Linked DNA regions of Homo sapiens: all the other regions are linked to region 1. The links are contacts of gene promoters, found by promoter capture Hi-C in blood cells and fetal thymus (Javierre and others, 2016). All regions are on one chromosome and are shown on one strand. The core of a region is centred on a gene start or on the middle of the fragment in contact, and the rest is flanking DNA. Distances in the headings are between cores, read along the strand shown.

Region 1 (2,842 bases), core at 90-2,589:
GTTCAAGTGATTCTTGTGCCTCGGCCTCCCAAGTAGCTGAGATTATAGGTGTATGTCACCACACGCAGCTAACTTTTGTATTTTTAGTAGAGACGGGGTTTCACCATGTTGGCCACGCTGGTTTCGAACTCCTGACCTCAGGTGATCCACCCACCTCAGCCTCCCAACGTGCTGGGATTACAGGTGTGAGCCACCGTGCCGGGCCTGGCCTTTCTATCTGGCTTTTTTGATTTGATATCCTAGTAGAGCCCACTATTAAAATTTCCATCTATAGAAACAGGAAGTCAGGAAAGGACTGGAGGGAATTTCGGCAGGTTAATGATTACAACGGGAAGAGAATACAATTATTGAGGTGTTTTGACTCACTTGGTCATTTCCTGAGAAACTCTTTGCTTGAATTTTTCCACTCTTCAGGTGAAGATGATGACACTGTCCAGGCTTTCAGGAGTCCAACCTCTTAGACAATAAGCGACATACTCTTTGGTAACTGCAGTGGCTAAGCCAAGGAATAAATATGCATAACTACAACAAACAGGTACTTGATGAGAACGTTATCTAGAGCTGCCAGATAATTTAGACCAAGTGCACCTTTTGTTGTAAGAAGCTGGTATGATGTCCACATAGTTTTCAGGGCTGCTGTTCCCTCTAAGAAGAAGGAATAGTCTTTTTCCTGAACTACTCTCTCTCTGAACTTTTAGGCTACAATTATGTCAGTTCAAAGTGGGCAGATTTGCCAACTGAAAAAATGATGACACGCAGCTTCCCAACTCTGTAAGGACTTTTCAGGTCTGTGGGTGAACGTCATTCCCGAGCAAACCAATGCCACAAGATTAGTAGGATGCGGCTCACAAGAAATGTTTACAATGAAGGGCATCACAGACTGCAAACCAAACAGGGTAGGAGGACACGGGACCATTTCCTTTTCCTGTCTCCATCTGACTCTGGAAGGCGGGGACAAGACATTTAAAACCAGGACCACTCCAGGAGGACAGCACATTAGCTACTGCCCTCCAGCTCCCTTCAGTGTTGTTTCCGTAAAGGACTTATAAACTGGCGAGGGCGGTGGCTTCCAAAAGCGCACAGGCGTCCCTTTTCCAACTTGGTCTTCTTATTTTCCCTTCCTGCTCCATAACTACAACGTGTTTCTGTTCGTAATCATCTCGGCTTTTCCTTACCTCTGCTTGTAAGAAAAGTCCTTTGCGCCATTCCCCTCCAAGCCCCAGGGAAGGGCCTGGAAAGCGCTTACACCTCAGACCCAGTGTCGGTCAGCCGTCAAGGAGCGAGCGACGTGGGAAACCCTGAGATAGGACATTGGCCCGGCGCTGGGCTCGGGTAACGATGCGGGGCGGGGAGCGCGGGCGGCCGGGGAGGGCGGCGGCCCCTTTAAGAGCAGGCCACGCCCCCTCCCCTCCTCCCGTTCGCTGCCAGCGGTCGGTGGCGGCCGCTACGGTGCTGACAAGATGGCGGCTGGCGGAGCTGTCGCTGCGGCGCCCGAGTGCCGGCTTCTCCCCTACGCGCTACACAAGTGGAGCTCCTTTTCCTCCACCTACCTTCCCGAGTAAGTGCCGGGCCTTGAGCTCGTGCTGCCCCACCCTTCCGCGTCAGCACGGTTGGGCCAGGGGTGCAATGGAGGGCAGCCGAGCCGAGAGGCCCAGGCGGGGCCTGCTGAGGGGGACGTGCGGCCTCCGGAGTCTTAGTTCAGCTGCTGAGAGCGTTGCTCGGCCTCGCTCGGGAAGGGGTTAGGGTCCGGAGAGCGAGCCCAGGGAGAAGGGGCGAGGTGTGTGGCGGATCCGGGGCGCGCACAGGAGAACCGGAAGCCCAGCGGTTCTGCGCTTGGGATTTGGGGGTTGAGGTTGAGGAGGGCTTGGGGGGCGGACGGCTCTGGGGCAGGAATCGGAGTTGGCGGGGCCCTGCCCGCGGGCAAACTACCCCGAATGTCTGAGGTCGTCCGAGGTGGTCGGCGTCGGGGGACAGTTCAGTCGATTGCTGCCGGGACAAAGTGTAAAGCCGAGGAGTGTCTATTCCAGAGTGGGGTCATTAAAAGTGATTAGCTCTAGAGTAGTGTTAAAAGTCACGGAAGGCTGAAAAGTTGTGGAATCCATCTGAATCCTAGCAGGCGGGGAGAACTTGTAGGATTGGCAGACGTTGTCTTTAATGCCTGGAAGTTCTGAAAAAGATAGGGAGTGGGAAGGAGGGACGTTACCGAAGAATTTCAGTATTACGGCTCATTAGAAGATGGGTTTGTATGGACACAGACACGTTTCCCAGTCCGGAAACTCAAACATAGAAACATCTGGCTTTAATGAATTTGATTTTCAACACCGGCTTTGTCTTGATCCCTGATTTAGGTGTTAAAAAAATTCAGTTGCATTGTTAGGTTTTTGTTGGTGGTGTTTTTTTCTCTAGCAAATTCCTTCTGAAATGCTGAAAATACTCTTACATAGTATCTTATTTATCTTTGGCTTATCTTTGAAAGGAGGAGCAGATCTAACTCCAATTTTACATGCTAGTGGAGGAACTGGCTTAGTAAAGGGTTAAGATCTGTGCAGATCCTGAAGAAAAGTGCTAGTTGTCCCTCTAACCATCTCACAGGACCGAAACGATTTTATGAACGAAACAAATTAATGAATAATATATTTTACTGAGTATTTTACTAAACAAAAAAGTGACTAGATCTGTGAAGCATACTCAAGTAAGTTTTCCATCTGTATTTGAGAAATTCTTCACATTTATCCAAATTTGATTTCACTGGTTATATCAATGAAGAATCTCAAAATGGAGCTGCAACTGGAAGAATCTGTCATGACTGCCAGCCTCCCATTTTATTCACCAGGTCAAGGGT
Region 2 (2,842 bases), core at 137-2,636, 470 kb before region 1:
CTGGGTGATATAAACCCCTCTGAGCTGAGACTGGGCTCTCCAGTCTCTCATAGCACATTCCATGGGGCCCAGTCTCAGCTCTAGCCCCTACTGCTTCAGTCTAGGAACTACCCCACTCATACAGGGACCAGCTGGGTGATGCATGTTCATCTGAGACAATGAGATAGGCCCACCAGCTCCTTCTCACAGCTGATCCTGAAGTGGTCCAGTCTCAACTCCATCTCCTCTTGCTGCAGTTGAGAAATGCAGAGATCTGCTGGGAGACACACTTGTCTGGGCCACAAGGACAGTTTTCTGGACTCAGGTCCCTCAGTCCAGTATCTGCCTGGGGTCTTCTCTAGGTCCATCTGGGCTGGAAAGCCATGTCAACCTCAGAGTCCTCATGAAACTCACGGCAAGCCTGGGCTTGGAGTGTCCTCTAGTGCTGAGATATCTGGCTGCAGTGGTCACAGGCTCAGGGAACACAACAGTCAGTCAGCTTAGAATCCGAAAGGCCCTCTGAAGGACAGGCACAAACAAAGCCAGAATGCAAAGACTAAAATAAATACCTAATTCCTAAATATGTAGACATTGTTGTACTTCTACAGGCATCAAAAACATTCAGGGAAATATGACCTCACAAATGAGGTAAAACAAGGTGCCAGCGACCAACCCTACAGTGATAGAGATGTGTGATCTCTCATACAAATAATTCAAAATAGCTGCTTTAAGGAGACTCAATGAAATTCCAGAAAACAGAAAATCAATTCAGAAATGTATCAGAAAAATTTAATAGAGACATTGAAAAAATTTTAAAAATCAAAAAATCCTGGAGCTGAAAAATACAATGAATGAAATGAAAAATGCAATATAGAGCATCAATGGCAGAAGTAATCAGTGACAGATTATTTGGATATACACAGAGGAAAAAAAAAGGAATAAAAATAATGAAAAAAGCTTACAATATGTATGAGACAACATCAAAAAAGAAAATATTCATTATTGGAGTTAAAGAGGGAACTGAGAAAGACAAAGGGGTAGAAAGCTTCTTCAGAGAAATAATAGAAAGCTTTCCAACCCTGGAGAAAGATACAAATACCAAAGCCAGGAAGATCAAAGATCACCAATCAGATTCAACCCAAATAAGAATATCCCAAGACATATTACATCGAACTTGCAAAAATGAAAGACAAAGAGAGGATTCTAAAAGCAGCAAGAGAAAAGAGGCAAATAACATATAAGGGAGATCCAATACTCCTGGCATCAGACTTCTCAGCAGAAACTTTTCAGGCCAGGAGGGAGATGATAATATTCAGAGTGTTGTAGGAAAAAAATGGCCAACCAAGAATACTGTATCAAAAAAAGTTCTTCAGAAATGGAGAGATAAAGACTATCCCAGACGGACTTTATATTTATAGCAACCAGAACTGTCCCACAAAAAATGCTAAAGGAAATTCTTCAAACTGAAAGAAAAGGACTCTAACGTAATTATTATAGTAATATTGTAATTGTGATAAACCACTTATATCTTTGGCCAAAAGACTGAAAGTCAAAACTATTAAAATAATTTTGAAAATAATTTGTTAAGAGACAGGCAATAAAAAAGGGTAATTGGTGACATCAAAAACTGTAAATGTGGAGGAAGAAGGGAGTTAACCTGTTTGGGTTGTTTCTTTGCTTTTTTATGATCAAAATTAAGTTGGCATCAGTTTTAAATACCTGTTATAACTGTAGGATTTGTTTTGTAAGCTTAACGGTAACTACAAAGCTAAAACCTATAACAGATAGACTAAAAATAAAAAGTAACAAAACATACTACCAGAGAAAAATCACTTAACCACAAAGAAAGACAAAGAAAGGAAGAGAGGAGTTACCTACAGCTAGTAAACAAGTAACAGTATGGCAGTAAGGCCTTATCTATCAATAGTAACATTGAATGTAAATGGACTGAATTCTCCAATTAAAAAAACAAAGAGTAGCTGCATGGATTAAAAAACAAGACCCAACAATATGCTGTCTACAAGAAACTCAATTCACCTGTAAAGATACACATAGACTGAAAGTGAAGGGATAGAAAGATGATATCCCATGCAATGGAAACCAAAAAAGAGCAGGAGTAACTATATGAGCTAAAATAGACTTTAAATTAAAAACTGTAAAAAGAGATAAATAGGGTTATTATATAATGATTAAGAGGTCAATTCAGCTAGAGGATATAACAATAGTAAATATATACACACCCAACACCAGAGTACCCAAATATACAAAGCAAATATTAATAGATCTGAAGGGAGAGATAGACTGCAATGCAGCAGTAAGAGGGGATTTCAGCATCCTACTTTTGACAATGGAAAGATCATTCAGGCAGAAAATCAACAAAGAAACATCAGAGTGAAACTGTACACCAAATGGACCTAACAGACATTTACAGAATATTTCACCCAACTGCTACAGAATACGCATTCTTCATCAGCACATGGAACATTCTCCAGGACAGACTATATGTTGGACCATGAAACAAGTCTCAACAAATACAAAAAAGTGGAAATTATATCAAGTATCTTTTCTGACCACAATAGAGTAAAACTATAAGTCAATAAAATGAGGAATGTTAAAAACTGTACAAATACATGGAAATTAAACAACATGTTTCCAGACAACCGGTTGGTCAGTGAAGAAATTAAGAAGGAAATTTAGAAATTTCTTGAAAAAAATAAAAATGGAAACAAAACATACAAGAATCTATAGGATACAGAAAAAGTAGTACTAACATGGAATTTTATAGCAGTAAATATCCACATTTTTAAAAAATAGAGACTCCAAATAAACAATCTAACTATGCACATCAAGCAACTAGAAGAGA
Region 3 (2,842 bases), core at 153-2,652, 420 kb before region 1:
ACCCATGGGAATTTAGGGTGCTCATGATTTAGGCTGGAAAGAGGTGACTAAGCTCCTTGATCTAAGGTCTATGCAACTGGCCACTCACTGCGGACCAGGGACATTCAATGCCAGACAGCGGTAGGGCTGGTCTGGGGCGGCAAGCCAGATCCTGGGCAAAGCAGCCTTTCTGCTAAGGGTTCCCTGGCAGACCACGACGATGGCCTCTTGCAAATGTGACCTGACGGTGGCAAAAGTCTTCTTTCAAAGCCCATTCCTAGGGCCTGCTCTTTCCCCAGCACTGTCCCCCAGGAAGCCCCCTTGCTAGCCATATTCATAAAGTTAAACGACTAAAACATGTTTTGGAAAGTAGTTTCTCTTGGTATTTTAGTGTGTTGTTTACTCTCTTACTGTACTAACAATATAAATTGCTAAAGGCTTCCTGGAAATCAAAACTGCAAATTAGAGAAAAATAGGGTTAGAGAAAATGTCTTTGATAGTCCACTTTGAAATTCAAATAATGATTTGAGAAGTTTAAGAATTATTACGTGAATAGATGGTAAAGTGACAGAATATTAATTATAGAATCTAGCCAGTGTATTTTTCATAATAAAATATTGGAAAAAAGTATTACCGCATCTTCTGTGCATACCAATATCCAACAAGTTCATGGGCTCCTACCGCTGGATATAATAGCAAAAAGTCTTGAAATATAAAATAAAGGAAGCACCACAAATTAAATAGGGAAAGATACATGACTCAAAACATGATGGGGGATTTACTTTGTGAAACAAAGTCCATTTGGATCTTTGTTTCACACTTTTTTTTTTTTTTTTTTTAAAGACACAGGGTTCTTGCTCTGTTGCCTAGGCTGGAATGCAATAGCATGATAATAGCTAACTACAGCCTCAAGCTTCTGGGCTGAAGTGATCCTCCCACCTCAGCCTCCCAAGCAGCTAGGACTACAGACACATGCTACCATGCCTGCCTAATTTTTAAATTTTTTGGTAGAGGTGGGGTCTCACTGTGTTACCCAGGCTTGTCTTGAACTCCTAGCCTCAAGTGATTTTTCCACCTTAGCCCCCGCAAAGCACTGAGATTACAGGTGTGAGCCACTGTGCCTGGCCACATCTTACTTCTAATTTGGTGAGTTTAATGTTAAAAATGAAACTTTAAAAAAAAATAGATGAATATTTTCTAACTTCTGGGTAGGAAGGAATTCCTAAGCCTGAGGTAACAGAAGTTACACAGGAAAAAAAAAAAGATAAAATAACTTACTCCACTACATAAAATATAAAGGTTCTCATGAGAACACATGGACACAGGGAGCAGAACATCACACACCAGGGCCTGTTGGTGGGTGGCGGACTATGGGAGGGATAGCATTAGGAGAAATACCTAATGTAGATGGTGGTTTGATGGGTGCAGCAAACCACCATGGCACGTTTATACCTATGTAACAAACCTGCACGTTCTGCCCATGTATCCCAGAACTTAAAGTATAATAATAATAATAAAATAAAGGTTCTGTATTTCCAATAAAGTATAAGCAAAATTAAAAGTCAAAGAAGCTGGGAAAAGTATTTACCCCAAATATCGTATACACACACACACACACACACACATCGTTATAAATATATCATAGAAACAGTCACACCCTAGTAGAAAAGTTGATAATGGACACGAACAGAACATTTACAAAAGAAAACAACAGGCTGATGCACACAAGAAGAAAGTTCAGCGTTACTGGTAGAGATGAAAACATGCCACATGCCTGACATGGAGTGAACATTCATTAAATAGCTTCTGAGTAGATGAACCAAAAAGAATGTAACCTTTTTGTCTAAAGATAAAAAAGAGAGAACACTCAATGCTGATGAAGATATGGAGAGAAGGACATTTCATACTTTGCTAAAATGTGCAGAACTTGGTTCAAGCTTTCTAGAAAACAATTTAGCAAGGTATATCAAGAATCTTACAGTTAACCTCCTTTTACTCAAGAAATTCACTGTAAGGAATCTCTCCTAAGGAAATCATTAAAAATATGCCCAAGATTCATGTATTTAAAAGGTTAATTACTATAATAAAAAATAGTTTTTAAAAACTGGAAGCAAATTAGACACTCCCAAATTAGAGAATTAGCACCATTAGAAATATTTTAAAGGCATTTTAAAGCATAGGGAGAACATGCCTGTTTTAAAAGTGGGATAGAAAGTGTCTATACAGGCCGGGCATGGTGGCTCAAGCCTGTAATCCCAGCACTTTGGGAGGCCGAGACGGGCAGATCACGAGGTCAGGAGATCGAGACCATCCTGGCTAACATGGTAAAACCCCGTCTCTACTAAAAATACAAAAAATTAGCCGGGCGTGGTGGCGGGCACCTGTAGTCTTAGCTACTTGGGAGGCTGAGGCAGGAGAATGGCATGAACCCGGGAGGTGGAGTTTGCAGTGAGCCGAGACTGCGCCACTGCACTCCAGCCTGGGTGACAGAGCAAGGCTCCGTCTCAAAAAAAAAAAAAAAAAAAGAGGAAAGTGTCTATACAGGCTGGGCGTGGTGGCTCACACCTGTAATCCCAGCACCTTGGGAGGCCGAGGTGGGTGGATCACCTGAGGTCAGGAGTTCGAGACCAGCCTGACCAATAGGGTGAAACCCCGTCTGTACTAAAAATACACAACTACCTGGGCGTGGTGGCGCGTGCCTGTAATCCAAGCTAATTGGGAGGCTGAGGCAGGAGAATTGCTTGAACCCAGGAGGCAGAGGTTGCATTGAGCCGAGATTGTGCCACTGCACTCCAGCTTGGGCAACAAGAGCGAAACTCCATCTCAAAATAAATAAATAAATAAAGTACCTATACAGAATTAT
Region 4 (2,500 bases), core at 1-2,500, 400 kb before region 1:
TGTTGAAGGCCAGTGATGTCAGAGTTACTCTTCCTTCCTCCAGCAGCACTGACAGCAGTTTATTGTACGCAATTTCTAGAACTCAGATGTTCTAGAAGGAAGCAAACATATTCTGAGATCACAGACTATGACTATGCTCTCAGAATATGTTCTAGAACACCTAAGTTGCAATTCTTAAAATCAACACAGCGTAAGACTGCTTTAGGAGGAAGTGATCAAGCTCAAAGCAACCTAGGCATGATGTGCCTTGTTTGTTTATCTGTTTGAACAGGAATAAAACGAAAAGAGGCCTGTGTATTTCTCGTATTTTTATATAAGAGCTGGAGCTATTTGAACGGCTAAGGAGAAGAAGATAGTTTGATTTAGATTTGGCATGGGTTTAGGGGAAGAAACGTCTCTGTAGCTGGTCCTAAATATTATGGTAACTTGGACTGAATCAGTCTCCAAGGGAGAAGCTGCCACATGTTATAACAGAAGCCACTGGGCTTGGCAAGAAACAAATGAAAAAAAGTACAACGAAAGCAACCCCACTTCTCCATCGTGGCGGGGATGAGCTAGGCAGGACGACTGCATGTCTTCCTTTCCTATGCCTGACCAAATCCAGCACTGCCCTTTCAAATCAGTCTTCATCACATTCCAAAGAATACAAAATACGCAAGTTAATTTTAATTTCCAATGAATTCTTCAGGAGAAATTTTTCTTCCTCCTTCCTAAAAAAAAGAATAAAAAATGCAGAATAGAGATTCAAAATGAGGGGTGGCAGCAAAAATTCTGACTCGCAGAAGGTTGAGAGGGTGCCTTTTTCAAATGTATTTATTTTACAGTTCCAAGAAGGTAAGACTACCTTCTGTTTTGATTCATGCTTCACCATTCCCCACTTAAATTTTTAAAAATTACATCCTTGCCTATGTCTGTCTTGCTATTTGACTGGTCACTCCCAAACATAAACTGCCCTAGTTTGAAGCTTCCCAAAGCCAAGCAAAGGTGACAGACTAGTACAAAGAAGGCCGCTAGTGAGTTTTTACTGAGTGAATCTACATTGTTCCATGGCCTTGGTCTGGATATAGATTCTAAAGCTTCTTACACTGACACAAATGGAGTTTCTAGCTCTCCAGGTAATTTTCGGTGAAAGAAAATTATAGAAGAAGGCATAAACCTTGGCTCACAAAATAAATACGCACTCAGACCCATGTACTTCATGAAACATACAAGCCCAGAGCTAGACCATGCCATCTGTTTTATGAGGAAAAAAAATAAATTCACATGATTTACTTACTTTAGCTCTGCCAGAAATCATCAGCATCTACTTGCACAACTAAAGACAAGAAGACAAGGCAGATGGAGGCTAAACACCGAATACTGCCTAATTTTGATGTATATTTTTGGGTCAAACCTCTTATAATTTACTATTTCCAAGAGGGAAAATAAGCTTATATAATGGCACTGAATCATTGGCTTCCAGTTATGGGAAGCAAAGGAAATTAACCTCAAGGGGAAAAAAATGCTACAAATATAAATAATATAGTTTCTGTTTACGAAGCAGTTTTTCATGTACTGCCATTTCTTTCTTTTTTTAAAGAAGATATGTTTACAAAATAGGTGACCAACTAAGGTAGGTGTGTGTGAAGAGAGGCAGTGAGAGAGAGGGGATCCTGAAATTCTTTTCAGTAAAGGAAAAAGATAATTTTAGGGATGTTTTTAAAAATATATAACTTGATGAATTTTTTATAGCATGAGTATTATTTAGGTGCTGTCCTAGACCAGTGTGGCGTATAGGCTATAGAAGATTGGTCCTGAATGCTAATGGCAGGGATGAGTGTAAGATCATCAAAACTTATTTGTGGGAAGGAGAGCTACTGACAGAGCCATGTATTACATGACTCCAGTCTGGGCTGATAGGCCTGCCTTAAAGCATAGCTAGAGGGCAGGCACGGTGGCTCATGCCTGTAATCTCAGCACTTTGGGAGGTTGAGGCGGGCAGGTCACTTGAAGTCAGGAGTTTGAGACCAGCAACATGGTGAAACCCCATCTCTACTAAAAATACGAAGATTAGCCGGGTGTGGTAGCATGTGCCTGTAGTCCTAGCTACTCAGGAGGCTGAGGCAGGAGAATCGCTTGAACTGGGGAGGCAGAGGCTGCAGTGACCCAAGATTGTGCCACTTGCACTCCAGCCTGGGTGACAGAGTGAGACTCCATTTCAAAAAAAAAAAAAAAAAAAAAAAAGCATAGATAGACAAAATGTCCTGGAATCACTAAAATGGATAAATTATGATATCCATAAAGTGGATAAGTTATGATATATATTCACACACTAGATACACACATTATGATATATTCATATATATCGTGAAGGCTAAACCCACATGAGTCCATAACACACTCACAGGTCTGTGCCCTTTGGCCCTGGCCCTCTCGCCATTCGGAAGCGATCACAGAGAACACAATGAGTCTGTTATTCGCTCAATATACAGTCATGTGCAGCATAACATTTCAGTCAATG
Region 5 (2,842 bases), core at 146-2,645, 380 kb before region 1:
TTAAAAAGGGCAGACGGAGACATTAGATTTTTTATTACTTCTTTATAATCTTGAGATGGTTGGCATTTTCTGTAATATATTGTTTTTATAACTGGAAAAATTCTATTTATGCTAATTACCACCCTCTAAATATTTCTCAGCTTTATAAAATCATGAAAATATTTGCAAATACTTTTGAACAAGAAATTTTTTTTTTTTTTGAGATGGGGTCTTCAGGGGGAGTGCAATGGTACAATCATAGCTCACTGTAACCTCGAACTCCTGGGCTCAGACTATCCTCCCATCTCAATCTCCCAGCTACTCAGGTATGAACTACCACACCCAGCCAGAAATTCTTATATTTATTATTAAATGCAAAGAAGAAGGTGCAAAACAATGTGATCTTTACTATGTAAAAATTTACATGAAAGAGACTGGAAGCCTATGCATCAGAATGTTAATAGTTGTTGCTTTTAGGTAGTGCCATTGTGTGTAATACTTTTCTACACCTTACAAATTTTCTGTGATTGTCATATATTGTTTTCATAATAAGAAACAGATAACAGTTTCACAATTAGAGGACTAATACATCAAGAAGCTACTATTATCAACAGTTAAATTTCAAAATACAGAGTATCGATAGCTACAAAAATTTGCCCTATGACCAAGAGATTTTTTTTAATTTAGGAACCACTGGTATACCTTCAGAAAACAGTAGGAATTGGTGTGTGTGTAGGAGGTGATAATGAATCATATTTTTTTTTTTAGCTGTCAAACTGTTTTCTCCAGGCAGCAGTTCTGTGAGGTCCAACTGAAGTATGAGAACCTTGATAGTAGGGACATTACCAGAAAAATGGCCCAAAGGTCGATGGGGGGAGGAACAGTAAATGATCAAAAGAGTAAGGCAAGAGTCCATGAAAACAGAAGCGTCAATAGAGAAGGATCAATAACTTATTTGATCCAAAGGAACTGAAAGCAGGAACTAAAACAGGTATTTGTACACCCACGTCCCTAACAGCATTATTCACAACAGCCAAAACATGAGAGCAACCTGTGTCCATCAACCCGTGTCCATCACATGGATATATAAAATGTGGCATATCTACATGGCGGAATATTATTCAGCCTTAAAAAGCAAAGAAATCATGTCAATGCTACAATGTTGTTGTAATCCTACAACATTAGACGAACCTTGAGGACATTGTGCTAAGTGAAATAAGCCAGTCACAAAAGGACAAATACTGTAGGGTTTCACTTATTTGAGGTACCTAGAATAGTCAAATTCAAAGAAACAGAAAGTACAATGATGGTTTTCAGGGGAGCTGGGGGGAGGAGGGAATGGGGAGTTGTTGTTTAATGAGGACAGAGTTTCTGTTTTGCAAAATGAAAAGATTCCAGAGATGGATGATGGTGATGGGTGCACAACAACATGAATGTATTTAATGCCAATGACCTGTGTACTTAAACATGGTTAAGATGGTAATTTTTCTGTTACATATTTTACCACGATTAAAATATATACATATATATTTTAAGTATCTGTATTTACATATAGATATAGTCTTATCTGTGTATATATATATATATATATTTCATCTATAAATATATGAAAGAAAGAAAGAAACCATCAGAATTAGAAGTCCTGAATAAGTTTCCGATTTGGAATGCAAGAAAGGTTTAGGAGTGTCAATGATGCAAGCATCAAATGACCTTATTTCTGAGACTAAATTCTTTAAATATAAATTATAGAAGTCAGCTCAGAAGTGAAAATCCAGATCAAAAGTGAAAATAAGAAGGGATACTGTGTGTAATTTGAACATAATATACCAAACTTCTTTGTGGTTTTTTTTTGAGACCCTCTCATAATAGCCAGCTTGGAAAAATTCCCCACAACTAGGAAAGAACCTACAAATCCAAGCAACATGATGACATTTTCTCATCAACAGGAAAAAACATAAGCATAAGGGAAACTCTGAGTGTCCTTAAAATGTACTCGATACCCATTTTGTGCTATTACCACAGATTTAAAGAATTCTAGAGCTGGACAGAAGCTCTCAGATAGAACTGTTCCAGGACTCAGATGTCTAAAGAGGCTTCCCCAAGGTCACTGAGCAATGCCAGATTTAAAGACAAGCCCCTGGAGAAGAGTTCTATTTTGTTTGTTGTGTTTTATTTAATATATTTATTAATTTTGAGATGGAGTTTCGCTCTTATTGACCAGGCTGGAGTGCAATGGTGCAATCTCGGCTCACTGCAACCTCTGTCCCCTCGGTTCAAGCAATTCTCCTGCCTCAGCCTCCTGAGTAGCTGGGATTACAGGCACACGCCACCATGCCCAGCTAATTTTTGTATTTTTAGTAGAGACAGGGTTTCACCATGTTAGCCAGGCTGGTCTCGAACTCCTGACTTCAGGTGATCCGCCCACCTTGGCCTTCCAAACTGCTGGGATTACAGGCATGAGCCACCATGCTTGGCCGTGTTTTATTTTTTTTAAAGAGGTGGCTATTTAAAGGTAAGAAAGCAAGTGTAATTGGAAGGCTCTTTCTACAAGTCATTTTATTCATTAATTTTGTTCAAAAAATACTTGAGTACATCTTGTATAACTCTGCCAGGCACTGGGCTAGGTGCTAGATGATGAACAATATTTCATCATCCTTCCTGTAGCAAACTGGCAATTACAATGTAAAGGAGGCATACAATGCTATTAGTACACATAAGAGGGGGCTCTAATCTGTTCTAGCTAGATTGGTTGAGGATGGCAACCCGAAGGTAGTGATATTTTTAATAATAATAGTAATCACTGTTATCACAGCAAGCTTTATTGACCACCATTATAGGTCAGATAGGGCTTTAAAACTTTCTA
Region 6 (2,842 bases), core at 100-2,599, 350 kb before region 1:
TTTCCAGCTTCATCCATGTCCCTACAAAGGACATGAACTCATCATTTTTTATGGCTGCATAGTATTCCATGCTGTATATGTGCCACATTTTCTTAATCCAGTCTATCATTGTTGGACATATGGCTTGGTTCCAAGTCTTTGCTATTGTGAGTAGTGCCACAATAAACATACGTGTGCATGTGTTTGGATATATACTCGGAAGTGAGATTGCTGGGTCCCATGTGCAATAGCATCAAAAAGAATAAAATGCTTAGGAATAAACTTAACCAAAGAGATAAAATATTTCTACACTGAGAACTACATAAGATTAATAAAAGAAATTGAAGAAAACACAAATAAAGGGGAAGAAAGCCCATGTTCATGGATTGAAAGACCTACTACTGGTAAAATATCCATACTATCCAAAGCAATCTGCAGACACAATGCAATCCCTACTAAAATCCTAATGGTATTTTCTACAAAAATTTTTTTAAAAATCCTAACATTCATATGGAACAACAAAGGACTCCAAATAGTCAAACACAAACTTTAGAAAGAACAAATTTGGAGGCATCATACTTCCTGATTTCTAAATTTATTACGAATTTACAGTAACTTTAACAGTACAGCAATGGCATTAAAACAGATTTATAGACCAGTGGAACAGAATATAGAGCCCAGAAATAAACCCACAGATAAACAGTTAACTGATCTTTGGCAAGGGTACCAAGAATACACATACATCAGGGAAGGATAATCTCTTCCACAAATGATGCTCAGAAAACTGAATATCCACATGCAACATAATCAAATTGGATTTTGTTATGGTTTGGATCTGTATCCCCAAATCTCATGTCAAACTGTATCCTAAATGTTAGAGGTGGTGCCTGGTGGGAGGTGACTCAATCATGGGGGCACATTTCCCTCTTGGTGCTGTTTTCATGATAGTGAATGAGTGAGTTCTGGTGAAATCTGCTCATTTAAAAGTGTGTGGTACCTCCCTCCCCAACTCTCACTCCATATCTTGGCCATGTAAGATGTGCCTGTTTTCATTCTGACTTCTGCCATGATTGTAAGTTTCCTAAGGCCTTCCCAGAAGCAGAAGCCACTATGCTTCCTGTACAGCCTGCAGAACTGTGAGCCAATTAAACCTCTTTTCTTTATAAATTACCGAGTCTCAGGTATTTCTTTATAGAAATTCAAGAATGGACTAACACAGAAAATTAGTACCAAGAAAAGGGGCATTGCTATGATACCTGAAAATGTGGAAGCAGCTTTGAAACTGGATAACAGGCAGAGGTTGGAACAGTTTGGAGGGCTCAGAAGAAAACAGGAAGATGAGGGAAAAGTTTGGAACTTCCTAGAGACTTGAATTGTTGTGACCAAAATGCTGATAGTGATATGGACAATGAAGTCCAAGCTGAGGAGGTCTCAGGTGAATACGGGAAAGTTACCGAGAATTGGAGTAAAGCTATGCTTTAGCAAACAGCCTGGCTGCAATGTGTCCTTGCTCTATGGATCTGTGGAACTTTGAACTTCAAAGTGATGATTTAGGGTATCTGATGGAAGAAATTTCTAAGCAGTGAAGTATTCAAGACATGGCCTGGCTGCTCACATGTGTAAGCAAAGAAATGACCTGTAATTTGAACTTTTTTATAAAAGAAAAGCAGAGTTTCCAAAGTTTAGAAAATTTGCATCCTGGCCATGTGGCAGAAAAGAAAAGCCCATTTTCAGGAGAGCAATTCAAGCTAAAAGAAAGACAAGTGCTGATAGCCAAGACAATGGGGAAAAGGCCTCGATAGTATTTCAGAGAACTTCATGGCAGCCCTTCTCATCACAGGCCCAAAGGCCTAGTAAGACTGAAAGGTTTTGTGGATCAGGCCCAGCTGCCCTGCACAGCCATGAGAACTGCTCCCTGCATCCCAGCAGCTCCAGCTCTAGCCATGGCTCAAAGGGGCCCAGGTATAGCTCAGGCCACTGCTCTGGAGGATGTAAGCCATAAGCCTTGGTAGCTTCCATGTAGTGTTAAGCCTGTGGGTACACAGAGTGTAAGAGTGAATGAGGCTCAGGAGCCTCCGCCTAGATTTCAGAGGATATATAGAAAAGCCCGGATGTCCAGGCAGAAGTCTGCTGCAGGGATAGAGCCCTTATGGAGAGCCTCCATTAGGGCAGTGTAGAGGGGAAATGTAAGATTGGAGCCCCTACACAGTGTCCCCACTGGAGCACTGCCTAGTGGAGCAGTGAGAAGAGGGCCACTGTCCTCCAGACCCCAGAATGGTAGATCCACTGGCAGCTTGCACCCTGCACCTGGAAAAGCCATACACATTCAACACCAGCCCTTGAGAGCAGCCACAGGGGCTGAATCCTGCAAAGCCACAGGAGCAGAGCTGCCCAAGGCCTTGTGAGCCTACCCCTTGCATCACTGTGTCCTGAATGTGAGACTTAGAGTCAAAGGAGATTATTCTGGAGCTTTAAGATTTAATGACTGCCCTGCTGGGTTTCAGACTTGCATGGGGCCTGTAGCCCCTTTCTTTTGGCCAATTTCTCCCTTTTGGAATGGAAGTATTTACTCAATGCCTGTACCTCCATTGTATCTTGAAAATAACTAACTTGTTTGTTATTTTCCAGGCTCATGAGCAGAAGGGACTTGCCTTGTCTCAGATGAGACTTTGGATTTTTGAGGTCATGCTGGAAAAAAGTCAAGACTTTGAGGAACTGTTGGGAAGGCATGATTGGGTTTTGCAAAGTGAGAAGGACATGAGATTTGGGAGGGGCCAGGGGTGGAATGATACAGTTTGGATCTGTGTCTCCATCCAAATCTCATGTTGAAATGTAATCCACAATGTTGGAGGCTGGATCTGGT
Region 7 (2,842 bases), core at 205-2,704, 340 kb before region 1:
CCTGTTCCTCTCCAGTACTGTACACTGTAAACATGCCAAGCCGGATGCCACTCCCCAGACAGCTTCACGACTGCAAGCATCACATGGTCTGTGCCTACAACGCTTTTCATTTCTGGGCCATCCCTGCAAACTTGAAAACCCAACCTCCTCTGTGAATCTTGTGCTCTCTCTCCTCCAAGCAGAGTGGCTAGCCTGCTTCTCGCCCGCTCAGCGTACTTCTCCCCTGCACCATCTCCCTCTGCTGTAAATATCTAGACTGTCAGGTCTCTGAGGGCAGGACCACATGCTATTTCCCTGTGTATCCTCAGTGCTGACCATAGTGACCTGGATACAGCATGCACTGGATGATGGGAGGAAGGAAGAAGAGGGGAGGTGGGTAAAGAGAGAGATGATGATGCCTAAATTATCATCTGCTATGCATACTGTAGAAGGAACTCTGATACTGAGAGGAATGTTGATTTCAATGAACTTATTCTACACAGACATGAATTACTGTGGCCTTCATTAAGGTTATTTTATGTATGTTTAACAATCCATTTATTGTTATTTAGCTGTTTAGAAACAGTCCCAATATTTTGCTTTTACTCATATATATGTCAGTATTTAGCAGTGTAAATAAAGTCTAAGTTTTTATACTAAAAACCATCTTTCAAAGTTACTGAGACGCCTGCAGAAAATGTGTCCACAGCATTTCACTGCAGTTTGGAATAACTCTGTATCATTAAAACAAGCACAGGGGCCTCTACTGGCAAAACTACCCAGCAACACTTTATAAGCCTTTATGTTAGAACGCTGAATATCAGAAAGTGAAGTGAGTCTCCAAACTTTCCCTAATTCAGACAAGACTTTACCTTAATTACTAATTAGTACCAATAAGGGAAGATTGATTGATTGATTGATTTTAGACGGAGTTTCACTCTTGTTGCCCAGACTGGAGTGTAGTGGTGTAATCTCGGCTCACTGCAACCTCCAACTCCTGGGTTCAAGTGATTCTCCACCACGCCCGGCTAATTTTGTGTTTTTAGTAGAGATGGGGTTTCTCCATGTTGCTCAGGCTGGTCTTGAACTCCCAACCTCAGGTGATCCACCCGCCTTGGCCTCCCAAAGTGCTGGGATTACAGGCATGAGCCACCGAGATGGCTGGGAAGTTTTATTTTACCATTTGTTCATTTTCTCACACTCTAACACCCAAGGCAACAACCTACTTCAAGACATGACATGTTTGGGCTCTGGGGTCACTTCCATCAAGGGCCATTTGACTAGGGCTTCTCAGGGGCGTGACATGTAGGCGAATACATCTGGGAACTACAGAGCCATTGCTAACAACGCTCATTACTATTCAGAATGATCACCATCAGGCACATCAGCACCTTTCCCTCCGACAATGGAACCAACACCCGAGCCACAGAGCTGGGCTCTGCTGCTGCATAGGGCACCGACTCAGTACCGGCACATCCCGGCTGTCCTTGCTGTCTCCCCATTCTTCCCCAAAGTGGGGCCTATCAGCACACTGCCAAACTCACCTCCCCAGCAGCCTGGTTCCTTTAGTCCCACTTTCTATCCTGGACTACTGCCCTGAGGGACAACAGAATGGTTTCTGGACTCTTTGGACACCAAGGCCAACCCGGGCTGCCGTAGGGGCAAGGCCTAAAGAAGGAGCCTGCAGCCTCCACACCGTGGGTGTCAGGGTCATGTGCGTGTGAACTGCCAGCCCCGTTTCGTTGTGTTACTACAGAGAGAAACACAGTGGACCTTCTCTAGCATGAGAGCACCATAGTCTAGGAGGAGTGAAGGAAGGTCTTTATTTCATGAGACTTAAAAAAAAAATAGCTTCAAGATATAGTTTTAGAAACATAAGCAGACATCTTGTGGTCTGACAACAATTCATAAATCAGATCTTAAAACTGATTTTAGCAGATCTTTTCTATAAAATGCTGTATTTATAAAATGGAAAAAAGGCAGGATGGTGCAGCAAATTGGCCAAGCACAGATTGCATATTGACTTCATCTGACACTTTTTTTTTGTTTGTTTGTTTTTGAGATGTAGTCTCGTTCTGTCACCCAGGCTGGAGTTGCAGTGGCGCGATCTCGGCTCACTGCAACCTCCGCCTCCCAGGTTCAAATGATTCTCCTGCCTCAGCCTCCCAAGTAGCTAGGACTACAGGCACACATCACCATGCTCGGCTAATTTTTTTTTCTTTTTTTTGTATTTTTAGCAGAGAGGAGGTTTTACCATGTTGGCCAGGCTGGTCTCAAACTCCTGGGCTCAGGCAATCCTCCTGCCTCGGCCTCCCATAGTGCTGGGATTACAGGCATGAGCCACCGTGCGTGGCCCTAGCCCATTTTCTTTTCTTTTCTTTTCTTTTCTTTTTCTTTTTTTTTTTTTTTTTTGAGGCGGAGTCTCGTTCTGTTGCCCAGGCTGGAGTGCAGGGGTGCAATCTTGGCTCACTGCAACCTCTGCCTCCCAGGTTCAAGTGATTCTCCCACCTCCGTCTCCCGAGTAGCTGGGATTACAGGTATGCACCACCATGCTCTGCTAATTTTTTGTGTATGTGTATTTTTAGGAGAGACAGGTTTTCGCCATATTGGCCAGGCTGGTTTCCAACTCCTGACCTCAAGTGATCTACCCACCTCGGCTTCCCAAAGTGCTGGGATTACAGGCGTGAGCCACCACACCCAGCCTCATCTGACAAGTTTTAAAGTGGCAGTAAGAAGTGGCCTGTGTTCCATGATACAGAATATGAATCTACTTCCAATTGAAAAATATTCATGTATCACCCAACCAGGATGGCTGCAGCAGGAACAAAAGCAAACATGCTGAGAAATAAGATGTCTGGCGGCT

What was found. The method cuts DNA at HindIII sites, captures the fragments that hold promoters and counts their contacts. A CHiCAGO score of 5 or more calls a contact.
Region 2: a fragment that was not itself captured here is called in contact with the fragment with the promoter of MKLN1-AS in region 1 in 6 of 17 cell types (activated CD4 T cells, total B cells, neutrophils and 3 more); the score reaches 8.7 in activated CD4 T cells.
Region 3: a contact is called between a fragment that was not itself captured here and the fragment with the promoter of MKLN1-AS in region 1, in 4 of 17 cell types (naive CD4 T cells, total CD8 T cells, neutrophils and 1 more). The highest score is 8.6, in naive CD4 T cells.
Region 4: a contact is called between a fragment that was not itself captured here and the fragment with the promoter of MKLN1-AS in region 1, in 5 of 17 cell types (naive B cells, total B cells, naive CD4 T cells and 2 more). The highest score is 9.7, in naive B cells.
Region 5: a fragment that was not itself captured here is called in contact with the fragment with the promoter of MKLN1-AS in region 1 in 6 of 17 cell types (naive B cells, total B cells, total CD8 T cells and 3 more); the score reaches 7.2 in naive B cells.
Region 6: a contact is called between a fragment that was not itself captured here and the fragment with the promoter of MKLN1-AS in region 1, in 2 of 17 cell types (naive B cells and total CD8 T cells). The highest score is 5.6, in naive B cells.
Region 7: a fragment that was not itself captured here is called in contact with the fragment with the promoter of MKLN1-AS in region 1 in 6 of 17 cell types (neutrophils, naive B cells, total CD4 T cells and 3 more); the score reaches 8.1 in neutrophils.

The regions. Positions count from the first base shown.
Region 1 is chr7:131,326,440-131,329,281 of GRCh38, forward strand. It overlaps MKLN1-AS (MKLN1 antisense RNA), which reads right to left and starts at 1,340. Exons shown (of 6, transcript NR_125364.1): 1 at 1,176-1,340; 2 at 367-496. It overlaps MKLN1 (muskelin 1), which reads left to right and starts at 1,437. Exons shown (of 18, transcript NM_013255.5): 1 at 1,437-1,558. The coding sequence starts at 1,461. RefSeq lists enhancers at 1,202-1,778, 1,473-1,772, 1,779-2,355 and a silencer at 1,263-1,422. The HindIII fragment of the contact is 3,998 bases long and covers 1-2,842 here.
Region 2 is chr7:130,856,193-130,859,034 of GRCh38, forward strand. No RefSeq gene overlaps it. Among named protein-coding and RNA genes, the nearest start is that of MIR29A, 19 kb to the right of the region's middle. The HindIII fragment of the contact is 680 bases long and covers 1,047-1,726 here.
Region 3 is chr7:130,905,870-130,908,711 of GRCh38, forward strand. The region is part of intron 6 of LINC-PINT (long intergenic non-protein coding RNA, p53 induced transcript); the gene reads right to left. Among named protein-coding and RNA genes, the nearest start is that of LINC00513, 6.2 kb to the right of the region's middle. The HindIII fragment of the contact is 1,024 bases long and covers 891-1,914 here.
Region 4 is chr7:130,930,386-130,932,885 of GRCh38, forward strand. All of the region lies in intron 6 of LINC-PINT (long intergenic non-protein coding RNA, p53 induced transcript), which reads right to left. Among named protein-coding and RNA genes, the nearest start is that of LINC00513, 18 kb to the left of the region's middle. The HindIII fragment of the contact is 353 bases long and covers 1,075-1,427 here.
Region 5 is chr7:130,947,112-130,949,953 of GRCh38, forward strand. All of the region lies in intron 5 of LINC-PINT (long intergenic non-protein coding RNA, p53 induced transcript), which reads right to left. Among named protein-coding and RNA genes, the nearest start is that of LINC00513, 35 kb to the left of the region's middle. The HindIII fragment of the contact is 2,796 bases long and covers 1-2,793 here.
Region 6 is chr7:130,972,886-130,975,727 of GRCh38, forward strand. The region is part of intron 5 of LINC-PINT (long intergenic non-protein coding RNA, p53 induced transcript); the gene reads right to left. Among named protein-coding and RNA genes, the nearest start is that of LINC00513, 61 kb to the left of the region's middle. The HindIII fragment of the contact is 4,557 bases long and covers 1-2,842 here.
Region 7 is chr7:130,990,558-130,993,399 of GRCh38, forward strand. The region is part of intron 3 of LINC-PINT (long intergenic non-protein coding RNA, p53 induced transcript); the gene reads right to left. Among named protein-coding and RNA genes, the nearest start is that of LINC00513, 79 kb to the left of the region's middle. The HindIII fragment of the contact is 7,473 bases long and covers 1-2,842 here.